Regions from separate parts of the Homo sapiens genome. Here regions 1, 2, 3 and 4 are each linked to region 5. The links are contacts of gene promoters, found by promoter capture Hi-C in blood cells and fetal thymus (Javierre and others, 2016). All regions are on one chromosome and are shown on one strand. Each heading gives the region's core, a stretch centred on a gene start or on the middle of the fragment in contact. The rest is flanking DNA. Distances are from core to core; before and after follow the strand shown.

Region 1 (2,700 bases), core at 148-2,647, 380 kb before region 5:
CAACATACTGAGACCCCATCTCTAAAAAAAAATTTAGATGGTCATAGTGGTGCACGCCTGTGGCCCCAAATACTGAGAAGGGTGAAGGAGGAGGATCACTTGAGGCCAGGAGTTTGAGGCTGCACTGAACTATGATTGTGCCACTACACTCCAGCCTGGGCAACAAATGAGACCTTGTATCTAAATAAATAAATAAGATGAAATAAAATAATAATAATGGGTAACATCGAAGCACTATTTCTTATAAAAGGTGAAAGCCTTTTATATGTACTGTCTTATTTATCCTTACACAGCCATGTGAATTAATTACTGTTATATTTCCATTTGACAGATGAGAAAACTGAGATACAAAGAAGTAAGTGCCTTTCCCACTGGCAAGTGATGGGCCAGATGTAGACAAGCTGGACGGGGTTTAAGTCCAGCTAACATGCTGCTCAGAGTGAGGAATAAACTCAACCAAATCATTGGTGGGAATGTAAATTAGTAGAGCCATTATGGAAAACAGTATGGAGATTCCTTAAAAACCTAAAAATAGATATACCACATGATCTAGTAATGCCACTGCTGAATATATATCCAAAGGAAAGGGAATCAGTATGTTGAAGAGATATTTGCACTCTCATGTTTACTGCAGCACTGCTCATAATACCCGAGATACGGAATCAACCTAAGTGTCTATCAAAAGAGGAATGGATAAAGAACATGTGGACTATATACACAAAATGGGATGTTATTCAGCCATTACAAGAGAATGAAATCCTGTAATTCCCATCAACATGGATGAGCCTGGAGTACATTACGTTAAGTGGAATAACCTAGGCACAGAAAGATAAATACCACATGTTCACACTCATATGTGAAAGCTCAAAAAGCTTATCTCCTAGAAATAGAGAATAGAAAGCCAGGCATGGCAGTTCACACCTGCAATCCCAGCACTTTGGTTGGCTGAGGCAAGAGGATAGCTTGAAGCCAGGAGTTCAAGACCAGTCTAGGCAACATAGCATGTTGCCTAAATAAAATAAAAAATATTTTATTTTCTAAAAATAAAAATAAAATTAGCCTAGCATGGTGGCATGTACTTGTGGTCCCAGCTACTTGGGAGACTGAGGCAGGAGAATCAGTTGAGCCCAGGAATTTGAGGCCACAGTGAGTTATGATCGTGCCACGGCACTCCAGCCTGGGCAACAGGGCAAGACCCTGTCTCCTTTTTTTTTTTTGAGATGGAATTTCACTCTTTTTACCCAGGCTGGAGTGCAGTGGTACAATCTCAGCTCACTGCAACCTCTGCCTCCCGAGTTCAAGCACTTCCCCTGCCTTAGTGTCCCAAATAGTTGGAACTACAGGCATGTGCCACCACGCATGGCTAATTTTTGTATTTTTAGTAGAGACGGGGTTTCACCATGTTGGCCAGGCTGGTCTTGAACTCCTGACCTCAGGTGATCCACCCATCTCGGCCTCCCAAAGTGCTGGGATTACAGGCATGAGCCACCGCGCCCAGCCTGGAATATATTCTTAAATTCATGTTGGATGGCTCAGATAACAACAACCTCTTTTTCTTAGTAAATATTGACTTTCAATAGTTATAAACAGTTGTTCTTCTTACAAGGCCCAGCCTAGGAGGACTCAACTGAAATGATGACAGCAGACAATTCCATCAGCAAGAAAGAGGATTTTGAGCTCATCATTGAGGGAAAGCTGATGAAAGAGAGCAGAGAGGTTCCAGGCTGCATTTTCCAAGATGTTGTCCTCTTCTCCGCCAAGACCTCCCAGATACTTCAGTAGGATATAGCAGTAAAACCTCATGGAGCAGATCATTTGAGCAGGCTCGGTCCCAAAGGGAAACAAAATACAGCAGCCTTTCAGGGTAGATCACACTGGGGAGACAGGGAGGCGGGGCAGCAAGGAAAGGAAAGTGAAGCTTAAAAGGTCTAAGGAGGATGGGGAGGGCAAGGCGAGCAGAGAGACCGCAGCTGAAGTTAGCAGGGGCAATAAGCATCCACCAGAGAAAACAGCCTGGGCGGATTCCAAGGAAGGGGATTTTCAAACTCAACTGCTGACTCAAAAAAAGACCCCCAGGCCAGGCGCGGGGTCTTTGTTTGAGACTCTGTCTCAAACAAAACAAAACAAAAATCCCAAATACTAAACTAACTTAGCTCCCACCCTACCTGAATTTTTTTTTTTTTTTTTGGTTCACGTTCTCTCATGATCTTCCCGAAATGTTATCCTTAAGCTTCGGGGAGAGGTGAGCAACGGAAGGAACTGGCCCAGGCCCACCACTAAAGAAGCCCCAGGACCAATCGGGGTCCTCAGAGAAGCCCCAGAAGAGCCAGGAACAAGCTGCAGAAAACCTGGGGAGGGTGGGGCCTCCACCCAATACTCCACTCACAACTGGACTCTCTGCCAGGAAAGCCAACTCCAACATTTAGATGCCCTAAAAGGAACAAAATTAACCTGCCAGGAACATGATTCAAGCAGCCTCGGTGTCTTCCGACCCACCCCATCATGGCAACCACAATTGTAGACCGCAGTCTCGATGACGTGTTCACATTATTTTGCATTTCTTTTTTCTTTTTTTATTTTTATTTTTATTTTTGAGACGGAGTCTCCCTCTGTCGCCCAGGCTGGAGTGCAGTGGCCGGATCTTGGCTCACTGCAAGCTCCGCCTCCCAGGTTCACGCCATTCTCCTGCCTCAGCCTCCC
Region 2 (2,700 bases), core at 67-2,566, 350 kb before region 5:
GGCTGGTGTGGGAATGGCAGCCAGCTGTGTGGCAACATGGGTAGCCAGGCAGCCACTGGACCCACAGCAGCCGTCATTCCTCTTAGGCACAGGTGGCATCTTGGAGGTGGAGGTGATACTGGGAGAGGGGCAAAGTGGGGAAGGGAAAGGCAATGTATATGAATTTGGCCACATCACATACATTGCTAGAACTGAGCCGACTGCCATAAACCTTGTGCCTGGGCCAACCTGTTCTCCTCTAAGTGCTAACATCTCTTGACCTGAGTCAAGTGGGGACAAGTACTGTTGGAGAGAATGCAAGAAGATGAAGTTTAGCAGCATCCTCTCCAGGGAACATACTTTTCTTAGCTTATGCTAATGCTACCATAATGATCCTTCAGGACATAACTCCAGAGCTTCTGCTTTAAGGAGAGAGAATGAGGGGACATTTCCGCTTTGTTAATTTCCCCATCACCCACCATGTCTCTCATTCATTCTCTTTTTTCCCCATTCATTCTCCTACTAGCTGGTTGTTTGTTTCCATTTGAAAAAGAAAAAAGAATTTCATTTTTTGGAAGACCTTGACTGGTTTTGCCAGGATGATTAGAACTGTCACATAAAAAATAGGCATAGTCTTGGGGGGAAATTATATATGTAGCTAGAAGGATAGCAGTGAAAAGGAATGCTACACTCCTCACTCAGCAGAACAGCCAGGTCAAAGCCTCAGACCCATGCAGGGCAGCTATGAGGCCAGCACGCAGCTGGTGCCTCACACTTGTAACTCCCGCCAAGAAAACTGAGGCATGCTCATCTCTTCACCTCCAGCAACTGAGACAAACCCTGACACACAATAGGTACCAGTAAAACCTCTGAATGATTGAAAGCATGACTAGGGGCCAGGCTTGGTGGCTCACGCCTGTAATCCCAATGCTTTGAGAGGCTGAGGCAGGTGGATCACCTGAGGTCAGGAGTTCGAGACCAGCCTGGCCAACATGGTGAAACCCCATCTCTACTAAAAATACAAAAATTAGCCAGGCGTGGTGGTGCATGCCTGTAATCCCAGCTACCTGGGAGGCTAAGGCAGGAGAATCACTTGAACCCGGGAGGCAAAGTTTGCAGTGAGCCAAGATTGCACCACTGCACTCCAGCCCGGGCAACAGAGCAAGACTCCATCTCAGGGGAAAAATACAATAAAAAATAAAAAAAGAAATCCTGACTACAGGGCAGTAGTTAATGTGAATGTGGTAGCTGTTATGATGGCAGAATCTGACAAAAGACCATGGGTGGAGTGGCTGAGCTGTTCATGTGCACAGCCAGGCTGCTTGCCTGCCGGTCCAGCTCAGAGGGGTGACTTCTACCATTCAGCATTCCTGGTCCTGGGGCCCCAGGGTCTACCCTCGCTATTTTGTATCTCCCCACTGACTCTCTGAGCCTGGCATTTTCCAGACTGCGGGCACTTGGTTACCACCAGCCACACGGCTTGCTGGTTTTTGCTTACTCCTGGTTAATGGCAATGGAAAATAGCAATCATAGAACAACTATAAAAGTATCTTATTACTCCAAATTGATTAAGATGTGCAGGATAGATATTTTAAGTTTTCAAAATAAATTGGGAGAACACAGCTTTTTGTTAGAGAGAGGCATCATACTCCTCTGGCAACTGGAATAATTTGGTTAACTCTAAAATTAAAATGGCCACAAAATCATGCTGTACAAAGAAGTGTAAAATATCCATTAAAACTAACTTTAGGTTGGAGGCCAGGCGCGGTGGCTCCTGCCTGTAATCCCAGCCGAGACGGGCAGATCACAAGGTTAGGAGATCAAGACCATCCTGGCTAACACGGTGAAACCCCGTCTCTACTAAAAATACAAAAAATTAGCCGGGTGTGGTAGCAGGCGCCTGTAGTCCCAGTTACTCGGGAGGCTGAGGCAGGAGAATGGCGTGAACCCAGGAGGTGGAGCTTGCAGTGAGCCTAGATCGCGCCACTGCACTCCAGCCTTGGTGACAGAGCGACACTCCGTTTCACAAAAAAAAAAAAAAAAAAAAAGTCCGGGCACAGTGGCTCACGCCTGTAATCCCAGCACTTTGGGAGGCCAAGGCGGGCGGATCACGAGGTCAGGAGATCGAGACCATCCTGGCTAACACGGTGAAACCCCATCTCTACTAAACATACAAAAAATTAGCTGGGCGTGGCGGCGGGCGCCTGTAGTCCCAGCTACTTGGGAGGCTGAGGCAGGAGAATGGCGTGAACCTGAGAGGTGGAGCTTGCAGTGAGCCCAGATGGTGCCACTGCACTCCAGCCTGGGTGACAGAGTGAGACTCCGTCTCAAAAAAAAAAAAAAAAACAAAACTAACGTTAGGCAAATTGAACCAAATCATGAACACCAAAAGCACTGTACTTCAGGTGAGTAGATTTGGGCCAATACCAAATCATTACTTGTTGCTCAGTAAACAAAACCAAAGGTGATTAACCAATTAATCAATTTAAAATAGCACCAAACTTTTCTAAAATGGCCTAAACAGACAAAACTTTGACAGCACTTGTGTCTCAACCAAAGCTGAATTCCATTCATGTTACATTTGGTTGAAGTCCCCCTCCCCTTATCATCACATAAAGCCTGAAGCGCCCATGGAATTGCATATCCTTGGTCACCTCCCTCTGCTTCTCTAGTCCTCTCTCCCCTTCCTAAGTCATCAGCTCTCACCTTGAAGCCTGTGGG
Region 3 (2,700 bases), core at 72-2,571, 340 kb before region 5:
CACACAGCTAGCTGCAGAGCCAGGAGTCAAAATTCTGAACTGGCAGCTCCGGGCCCTTTGTGTGGCCTCATACCAGGGTCCTCAGGCAGAAATAGGTTCCTGTGGCCACCCTCCCTAATATTCCCAAGTTCTTTCAGTTCCCAGGGGTGTCTGGGAGCCCGCTAGGAGGAGGGAGGGTGCTGACAAAACTGAAGCTGGAAGGCTAGAGCTCCGGGGGAGCCAGGAGGCCCTGGGCACGGGCCAAACGTAACAGGGCGGGGCGGAGGGGGTTCTCGCCTGCTTTCTGGATCACTGACACCTGGAGCAAGCCTGCCCAGGGAACCCGACCTTGGCCATGACATAGGCTTATTCTGCCCTCACTCTGCCCCCAATCTTTCCAGCCCATCTCCCTACTGCTGAAAGATCAGGGGTCCAGGAGGGATTCCTGGGATTCTGGGCTTTGGGAAAGTGGACTGGGGGCAAATGTTAACCACCAGGGGCACTGGGGGCGGAGAGGGGGACCCTAGAAAGAGGAACTGAGTGTTTGCAGCCGCCCCTCAGTAAGATCCAGGGGCGGGGGCAGGGAAGGGAGCAGCCGCGATCCCCCTAAGCCAGGGTAGGAAACAGGTCGAAGGTCCCCTGGCCTTTGGAAGCAGAGACTTCTTACTCCCAAAGTCCTTCGACTCTGACCGCTGGAAAGACTTGGGAGCTGCTGAGTGCGCCCGGAGGACCCCGCCGCGCTGGGGCTGTGCGTGCAGCAAACCCAAGCCGCTGGCCAGGCTTGCGAGAAAGACCTCCACGCGTGGGGGGACCGTGGCGCCCTAGGTCCTCTGTCACATTCCGGGCCCTGTCACATTAGGCTGGGTTCGGAGACGTGACTGCATCTGGCCCCCCAGTCGCCCCGGCCCAGACCACCCATCCAGAATCCCCGGACTCGCCCTTCTCTCCACTCTGTCCACAGGCTGCCCATCTGGGGACCCCAGAATCTCGCCCCCTTCTCCGTCGGGCTCCCCAGGGCCTCCCTCCCCCTCGTCTGCACGCAAAGCTCCCTTAGGTCCCTTTAAGGAACAACTGGCCCCTGGTCTCTATTTCCCCCATACGATAAAGGGCACCGGGTGTTCCCGCCCGAGGGTGCGGACTCCTCGACCCTGAACTGCCACCCCCAGAAGGCCTTGAGCCCTGCGGCTCCAGGAAGACGGGTCCGTGCGCCTCCGCGTAGACTCGGCTCTCGGTCCTACGCCTGCCGCGCGCCCGCAGCCCGCCTGGCCCCGGGAAGCCTCACCATCGCTGCCGCTGTCCTCGCCCGCGCACCTCTCAGCTGGGCCTGCCCGCCCCGACTGCTCCAGATACAGCCGCCTCCGCCGTTGTGACACACCGGGAGGGGGGGACGCCGGGGACAGGCGCGCCGGGCCCGCAGCTGCCCCCCGGCATCACAGTGCCGGGGAGGGGCGGGCAGGTCACAAAGGCCCCTCCCCGCCCACCCGCGGCTCAAATCTCCGGGTCCTCGGTCCCGCCTCAGCAGCCGGGGGCGCTCGCAGCGGGGACTGCGCCCGCGGGGGAGGCTGCCCTATTACCAAAGCGCACGTGTCCACGTTCCAACACCGCCGGCGAGAGCAGCCTTCGTGACCCCAGCTGCCGGAGAAAGAAATGTAAAATGCAGCCAGGCGAATCGCGCGGGTCTCCCCAAACTTCCGTTCTCCTCCGACCCGCTGGAAAGGCTCCTGACTGGGGTGCAGCTGACCGGAGCGGGCTGCAGCGGGCCCGGGTGCCAAGGTGCCGTCTCAGCTGGGCGCCCTAGGGCCGTGTGTGCTTGGCAAGCTGCAGGGCCTCTGCTCCCAAAGCCTGTGCCTCCTGCCGCCAAGGCCCGCCTGGTTGCTGGAGACGGAAATGAGATGGCATACACAGAGCTCCTGGTACAGGCAGGTGCTGAAGACTGTTCCCGTTTTTACCCTCTCCCCGGATACCTCGCACCTCCACCGGGATTTTCAAATCTCCCCCCTTGATCCCTTCCTACTTTTAAGCCCCAAACGTGTCCAAGTCACATCTCCTATGTAATCCAGAACTCATACCAGGGTTCCCCTGCCTCTGCCCAGTAGTAAGACCCGCCAGATGCTGTTGGTTGCCCCCTGCTCGGGAAGGGGTGGGCACTTGGTAAAAGCCCCTCTTCACACTTTAGATGTTGGCCACGTTGTCACCCTGCCCATCTCCCCTCACTTCCCCCCAGGTGGGTGAGGGGCTGGATGGTCTTTGTTCCTTGTTCTCACTGCTGTTTCTTGTTCTTTCCCTCCAGTGGTCAGTTCCATTCATGTTGAAAGGTGTACCCCAGCCTCTCTCTTCCACTTTCCTCAGCACCAAGCCAACGCAGGCAAATTCATAGGTTTTCCTTAAGACAATACCACTTTAGCCAGACGTGGTAACTCCCCAAGTTTCCAAGCACAGTTAGAGATCTTCCTACCCTTCTGCTCCTAAGACATGCCTGCTTGTGGCCAATAGAGAATGAGAGCAGATTTCTGCTTACCTATGCGGCAATCTGTTCTGTTGGCCACCCATTCATAAACGATAGTACATGTGTCGTAATCATCTTTGCATTTGAGAGAGTACCAAACACAGTGCTTTACCCACTGATACAAACGGTACTTAGTAAAGCATGCGTTGAATTTTTGTCTATCTTATAATGTAAGATCCTGACAATTAAGACTCAGGATTAAGCTAATTGTGCCA
Region 4 (2,700 bases), core at 189-2,688, 270 kb before region 5:
CATTTTATTTTTTGAGAGAAAGGGTATGTAGAAGTGAGTATTTTAAAAATCAGGGCCAGGCACAGTGGCTCACGCCTGTAATCCCAGCGCTTTGGGAGGTCGAAGCAGGTAGCTCACTTGAGCCCAGGAGTTTGAGACCAGTCTGGACAATATAGTGAGACCCTGTCTCTATAAGAATTAGCAGGGTGTGGTGTTGCACGCCAATGGTCCCAGCTACTCAGGAAGCAGAGGTGGGAGGTGGGAGGATCGCTTAAGCCCGGGAAGTCAAGGCTGCAGTGAGCTGTGATCGCACCACTACACTCCAGCATGGGTAACAGAGCAAGACCCAGGGAAGTACAAATGGCTATTTTAAGAGGATATATGCAGCGCCTTGTGGATCTGGTAAGAAGTCCAACCAGAATATCTAGGTCTCGGGCCTGTGGTAGAACTAAGACTTCAGGTAAGGATTGATGAGGTTGCGGTGGGCCTGGAGAAGTAAAGAAAGAGAGAGGAAGGATGAGGGCACCAAATTGGTTCTACTTCCTCCTGAAGGCCTCCTAGCAGAGGCCATCAGCCAACAGCAGGTGCATTGCATAAACTGGAATGTGACTGGAAGAGATGTCTTAGCCTTGTGCAAAGACTGTGTCTCAGTTATACCGAGCTGATCCTGCTATTCAAATCCTACAGACCTTATTGAACTTCCAGACTCCACCCTCCAGAGGGTCTCCTCCCTCTCCTATACTCCAAAACCCTGAGCTCTTCAGGACTCCATCTGGCCTGTACAGGTGCCCCCCAGGCCCTCCAGAGAGAGAGAGGACAGCATTTGGCTCCTGGGCCCTGGGGTTTCACTCTGAGGAGGTGGGTGGACAGGAGGGTGGGAGCCGGGAAAGAAAGTCGGGAGGGCCTCATCTCCAAGTTAGAGAGTTGGCCTGATGAGGAGAGCGTCGGCGAATGGCGTCTTGCTGTTATTTCTCTGTATCCCTGCTGGGGATGGGAGTTCCTGGCAGCTGGCCCTGGCCCTGGCCTTGGCCTTTGTCTCCCTACACTCTCCTCTTGGCACAGCCAGAGGCTTTCAGTGTTGTGCTTTCAGGGTCACATGGTTTAAGCTTTGCACAGCTGCTGGGGGAAAAAGAGAGAGTGAGGGAGAGACTGAGACAGAGAGCACCCGCTCCATTCTTACCATATATGAGGCTAAGCGATGAGTATCGGCATGACTCAAAGCCCAAGAAAGCAAATCTCTGCCTGACTCTCACCCTTGGCTATGGAACACATTGCCTCTCACCCTATTTCTGGGCTTTTCACACCCAAATCCTCCCCTGCCCTCCACACACAAGCTTCCACTGACCTCCCGTGCACCCTCCCCTGAGTACACACACACTGTCATACCACACAAAAGATGTGTGTGCGTACTTTCTATCAAACCCGTGGAAAGAAAAGCCAACAACTTAATCAACCTAATAACTTTTGCACAACATGGTGGATAAGAGTTTGCTCTGGCAATTCACACACACACACACACACACACACACACACACACACACACGAATGCCCATGCCACGGGTGTTTATCCTTCTTTAAGCTTTTAGAATCTCTGTCCTTGGTCTCTCTCCAGTATAAATTCTTGAGTGCCATCTCCTGTTTTTCCACCAATGCTGCACCTTTCCCATCAGAAAAGTTACCTACTGCGATCAGAATTCTCACACCATGGAGTTTCAGAAGCCAGCCCTCCCGTGTCCCCAGGCCGCCAGTGGTCAGTGTTCCTCCTCCGCCTCTCCCACAGCACCTTGGCCTGTGCTGTGTAGCTTCTGCATGCTTCTATCACTGTTTGTAGCCTCCATCAGCAGCTGCAGCCAGCACCAGCCAATGCAGGTCGGGACCATGGTCTGCCTCATGCTGCTTCAGGCCACCTTGCATTGTCTTCACTAGCTTAACATCACGAGCGGTCACCGGTAATCTGGTCTTACAAAGTATGGTTATGATGCAACATGATTATTTTTTTAAACAAACATACTAAGTCTTAAATATTCAAATAAGGCTTCAAATAATAATGTGATCACCGTCACTGCCATTGGTCTCTAACCTCTCAAGGTCATCAATGGGAAGGCAGTGTTCACTTAGATGAGAATTTTTTTTTTTTTTTGGCAACAGGGTCTTGCTGTATTGCCCAGGCTGGGGTGCCAACACGGCTCACTGCAGCCTCACAATCTCCTGGGCTCAAGCTATCCTCCTGCCTCAGCCTCCCAAGTAGCTGGGAGTACAGCTGTGTGCCATCATGACCAGCTTATTTTTTAAAATTGTTTTGTAGAGATGGGGTTTCACCATGTTGCCCAGGCTGGTCTCAAACTCCTGGGCTCAAGTGAGCTGCCTGCCTCAGCCTCCCAAAGTGCTGGGATTACATGCATGAGTCAACATGCCTGGCCTACATGTGAAATTTTTGATATATTGTTCCCAAGCTAGTATCTTTTTTTTTTTTCCGAGACGAAGTCTCACTGTCTCGCCCAGGCTGGAGTGCAATGGCACCATCTTGGCTCACTGCAACCTCCGCCTCCAGGTTCAAGCGGTTCTCCTGCCTCAGCCTCCCAAGTAGCTGGGATTACAGCTGTGCACCACCATGCCCAGCTATATTTTTGTATTTTTAGTAGAGACGGGGTTTCTCCATGTTGGTCAGGCTGGTCTCAAACTCCTGACCTCAGGTGATCTGCCTGCCTCGGCCTCCCAAAG
Region 5 (2,700 bases), core at 169-2,668:
TCCCATCTGGGCGCCTGCTGACATTGTACCATGAATTTGAACACCACCCTGCAGATGACCTGGCCTCAGTCCATGAAGTTTCCCTTTCGTCTTCTGCAGGGCACCGGCCCCTAATGCCATCTGACGGTTTCCCTGCTCACAGGATCTTCCATTTGTTAGCCCCCCAGAGTGCCCAGCCCGAGTGAAGAGCATGCAGGAAACAAGCCCCTGTCCTCGTGGAGGCTACATTCCGAGAGGGGAGGTAGGCAACACACACACAAACGACTCCGTGGTATGTCATGCTGCGATGCTGGCTGTGGAGGAAAATGAAGTGAGGCCTGGTGAAAGCCAGAGGCCATGGGGCTGCCGAGGAGGAACAGGGACAGGGTAGGATTTGCTTAGAGCAGGGCAGGTCGCGTGGGACTCTGCGGGCCACTGAAAGGAACTTGGCTTTTATTCAGAGGATGTTAAAGCGTGAGTGACATCCTCTGACCTTTTATAAAAGAGGCAAGAGTCTAGGGAGCCCGGGTAGAAGTGAGGGCGTCTGGAGGAGCCACAGTGGGCTCAGGGAGTGAGCCCACGCGAGGGCGCAGAGCAACTGGACGCTCCAACAGGGCTGGTGGAAGTGCCGAACGGTGTGCATCACCTTGGAAAGCAGGCAGTTTTTAATACCATGAAGCTCGTCCAGCCCTATGATTCGCATTTCCACTCCTAGGTATCACACTCAAGAGAAGTGAAGACGCCCACAAAGGGCTCTGCAGCAGCACTGCCGGTGAGAGCTGCATCCGGGGATGCATGGACTGGCCTGTCATTCCAGCACCTTGGGAGGCCGAGGTGGGAAGCATCGCTGGAGCCCAGGAGTTCGAGACCAGCCTGAGACCTCCAGAGGTGGAGACCCCCCCCCCACCACCTCCACTAAAAACTGAAAAAGAAATTAGTTGGGTGTGGTGTGCGCCTGTAGTCCCAGCATTATCTATATGTTAAACTGATGTTTTAAATCAGAGTTGATATCCAAATAATTAAAGAATAAACAACAAGCACAGGGACTGGTGAGGGGCTGGGCCAGATTCTCTGCAACCCACATGGCTTCACCCACTTTCCAAACCCCTGGTTCCGTGAGGACCTAGAATGACCACCCCAGACTGTTCCAGAAACAGCCTGGGGATTCTGAATGTTTCCCAGAGAATCATTAGGAATTATCCCAGCGGCGCTGGAGTAAGTGGCCAACTTAAAGTTGGACGACACTGTCTGAAACAGTCGCGTAAGGGGTAAGGGTGGAAAGCCTGGTTCTCACTGCGCTGCCGGCTCCCCGCCCCGCTCCACAGCCCCGCGCCGGCGCGGGCTCCCCGGGTCCCCGCAAGCCGCCGGGGGCGGGCCGGGGCGGGCCGGGGCGGGCCCGGGCGTGGGGGGCCGAAGGAGGAAGCGCGCGGGGCGCCATAAGGAGGAAGCGGGTAGTCGACCGTGTCCGCGCGCCTGGGAGACGCTGCCTCGGCCCGGACGCGCCCGCGCCCCCGCGGCTGGAGGGTGGTGAGTGCACCCGCGCCCCTCCCGGGGTACGCGCCGAGCCCCAGCCCGTGACCCCTGCCTGCCGCCTGCCCCGGCGTGGAGCTCAGGGCCCGCCGCCCGCCCTGGGCCCGACCGCGGTGGGAGCCAGAGGAGGGGAGGCGGGGGGTCAGAGCCCCAGGCCTCAGCAGCGACCTGAGGGCCGGGTCTCTCCCGCCTCCCCTCCGCCCGGGCGCCCTCCTCGGCGCGGCCGGCAGGTCGGTGCTGAGGGTCGGGTCCGCCTCGGAGGCGGGGAAGGCTTTGTTGTGTCCTCTCCACGTGGCCTGGGGATTCAGGGGAGGGGTGCGGGGCGCGGGGAGGGGGAGGGGCCGAGGCCAGCCCCGGAGAGGAGAAAACCCGCGGGCCTGGCCGGGTGCAGGCCACCCTTGCCGGCGGATCGGAATCCCCGCCCACACCGTGGTCTTTCCAGCACCGCAGACACCTGCCGGCTCCTCCCGAGCGGAGCTCAGGGCTGACAAAGCGCGGTCAGAGCGGCCGCTTACTGGGGCTCGCCCGCTCCTTAGAGCACTGGCAATGATGTGCGGATCCTCGCTGCTGCTGCTGGGAAACTGTTGAGTGGCTGAATGACCCCAGGGGACCCTGGGAGAGCTCTGAAGCCCTCAGCCACCAAGTGGCTGGGCTGGCAAGGGTTCATTCATTCATTCAACAAATACGAATGTGCAGCGGTGCTGGGGTCATGATGGCTCGGTGGGCAGCGAGGGGCCGGGCCGGCTGGAGGAGCACAGTGCGGATTCTGTAAGTGGGCTGGGGGCTGGGCCTTCTGCGGCTGGACCGGCCTTCACCTGCAGGCAGGGTTGGGGCAGGTGAGGAGCAGATGGACCCACCCAGAGCTCTTCCACCTTCTCAGGCTTGCACCCCCTTCCTGGAGCCTTATCCACACCCTCAGTCCTCGCTCTCACTGTGGGGGAGCTGCAGAGGATGCGGTTTTTCCACATTCCATCTCCACCCACAGGAGGCTTTGAGATGGGGGGAGCTCTCCTGGGCCTGAATGTGTGCCGTCCTGGGGCCCTGCAGTCCCCTGGGAGTGATGACCGAGACCAGATTCCCTGAGCTGGGGTCTTAAGGGTGTGGGGAGCGCAGAGGGATCCTCTGGCATCAGGAGTTGAGGTAGACAGAGCTCCAGGGAGGCACTGCCGGGAGGACGACCCTGGCCAAGCC

The links. The method cuts DNA at HindIII sites, captures the fragments that hold promoters and counts their contacts. A CHiCAGO score of 5 or more calls a contact.
Region 1: a fragment that was not itself captured here is called in contact with the fragment with the promoter of BID in region 5 in 3 of 17 cell types (total B cells, activated CD4 T cells and erythroblasts); the score reaches 6.1 in total B cells.
Region 2: a fragment that was not itself captured here is called in contact with the fragment with the promoter of BID in region 5 in 1 of 17 cell types (M1 macrophages); the score reaches 5.7 in M1 macrophages.
Region 3: the fragment with the promoter of TUBA8 here is called in contact with the fragment with the promoter of BID in region 5 in 1 of 17 cell types (megakaryocytes); the score reaches 7.4 in megakaryocytes.
Region 4: a contact is called between a fragment that was not itself captured here and the fragment with the promoter of BID in region 5, in 1 of 17 cell types (erythroblasts). The highest score is 6.2, in erythroblasts.

Annotation. Positions count from the first base shown.
Region 1 is chr22:18,151,947-18,154,646 of GRCh38, reverse strand. The region is part of intron 1 of USP18 (ubiquitin specific peptidase 18); the gene reads right to left. Among named protein-coding and RNA genes, the nearest start is that of USP18, 3.1 kb to the right of the region's middle. RefSeq lists an enhancer at 1,808-2,057. The HindIII fragment of the contact is 1,046 bases long and covers 875-1,920 here.
Region 2 is chr22:18,127,020-18,129,719 of GRCh38, reverse strand. TUBA8 (tubulin alpha 8) reads right to left here. Exons shown (of 5, transcript NM_018943.3): 4 at 2,686-2,700. Among named protein-coding and RNA genes, the nearest start is that of TUBA8, 18 kb to the right of the region's middle. The HindIII fragment of the contact is 6,961 bases long and covers 1-2,700 here.
Region 3 is chr22:18,109,430-18,112,129 of GRCh38, reverse strand. It overlaps TUBA8 (tubulin alpha 8), which reads right to left and starts at 1,321. Exons shown (of 5, transcript NM_018943.3): 1 at 1,262-1,321. The coding sequence starts at 1,264. RefSeq lists a silencer at 1,155-1,544 and an enhancer at 1,625-1,824. The HindIII fragment of the contact is 5,564 bases long and covers 1-2,700 here.
Region 4 is chr22:18,043,238-18,045,937 of GRCh38, reverse strand. No RefSeq gene overlaps it. Among named protein-coding and RNA genes, the nearest start is that of LINC01634, 15 kb to the right of the region's middle. The HindIII fragment of the contact is 245 bases long and covers 1,316-1,560 here.
Region 5 is chr22:17,773,187-17,775,886 of GRCh38, reverse strand. It overlaps BID (BH3 interacting domain death agonist), which reads left to right and starts at 1,418. Exons shown (of 6, transcript NM_001196.4): 1 at 1,418-1,506. RefSeq lists silencers at 1,290-1,389, 1,410-1,459, 1,480-1,549, 1,580-1,909. The HindIII fragment of the contact is 11,451 bases long and covers 1-2,700 here.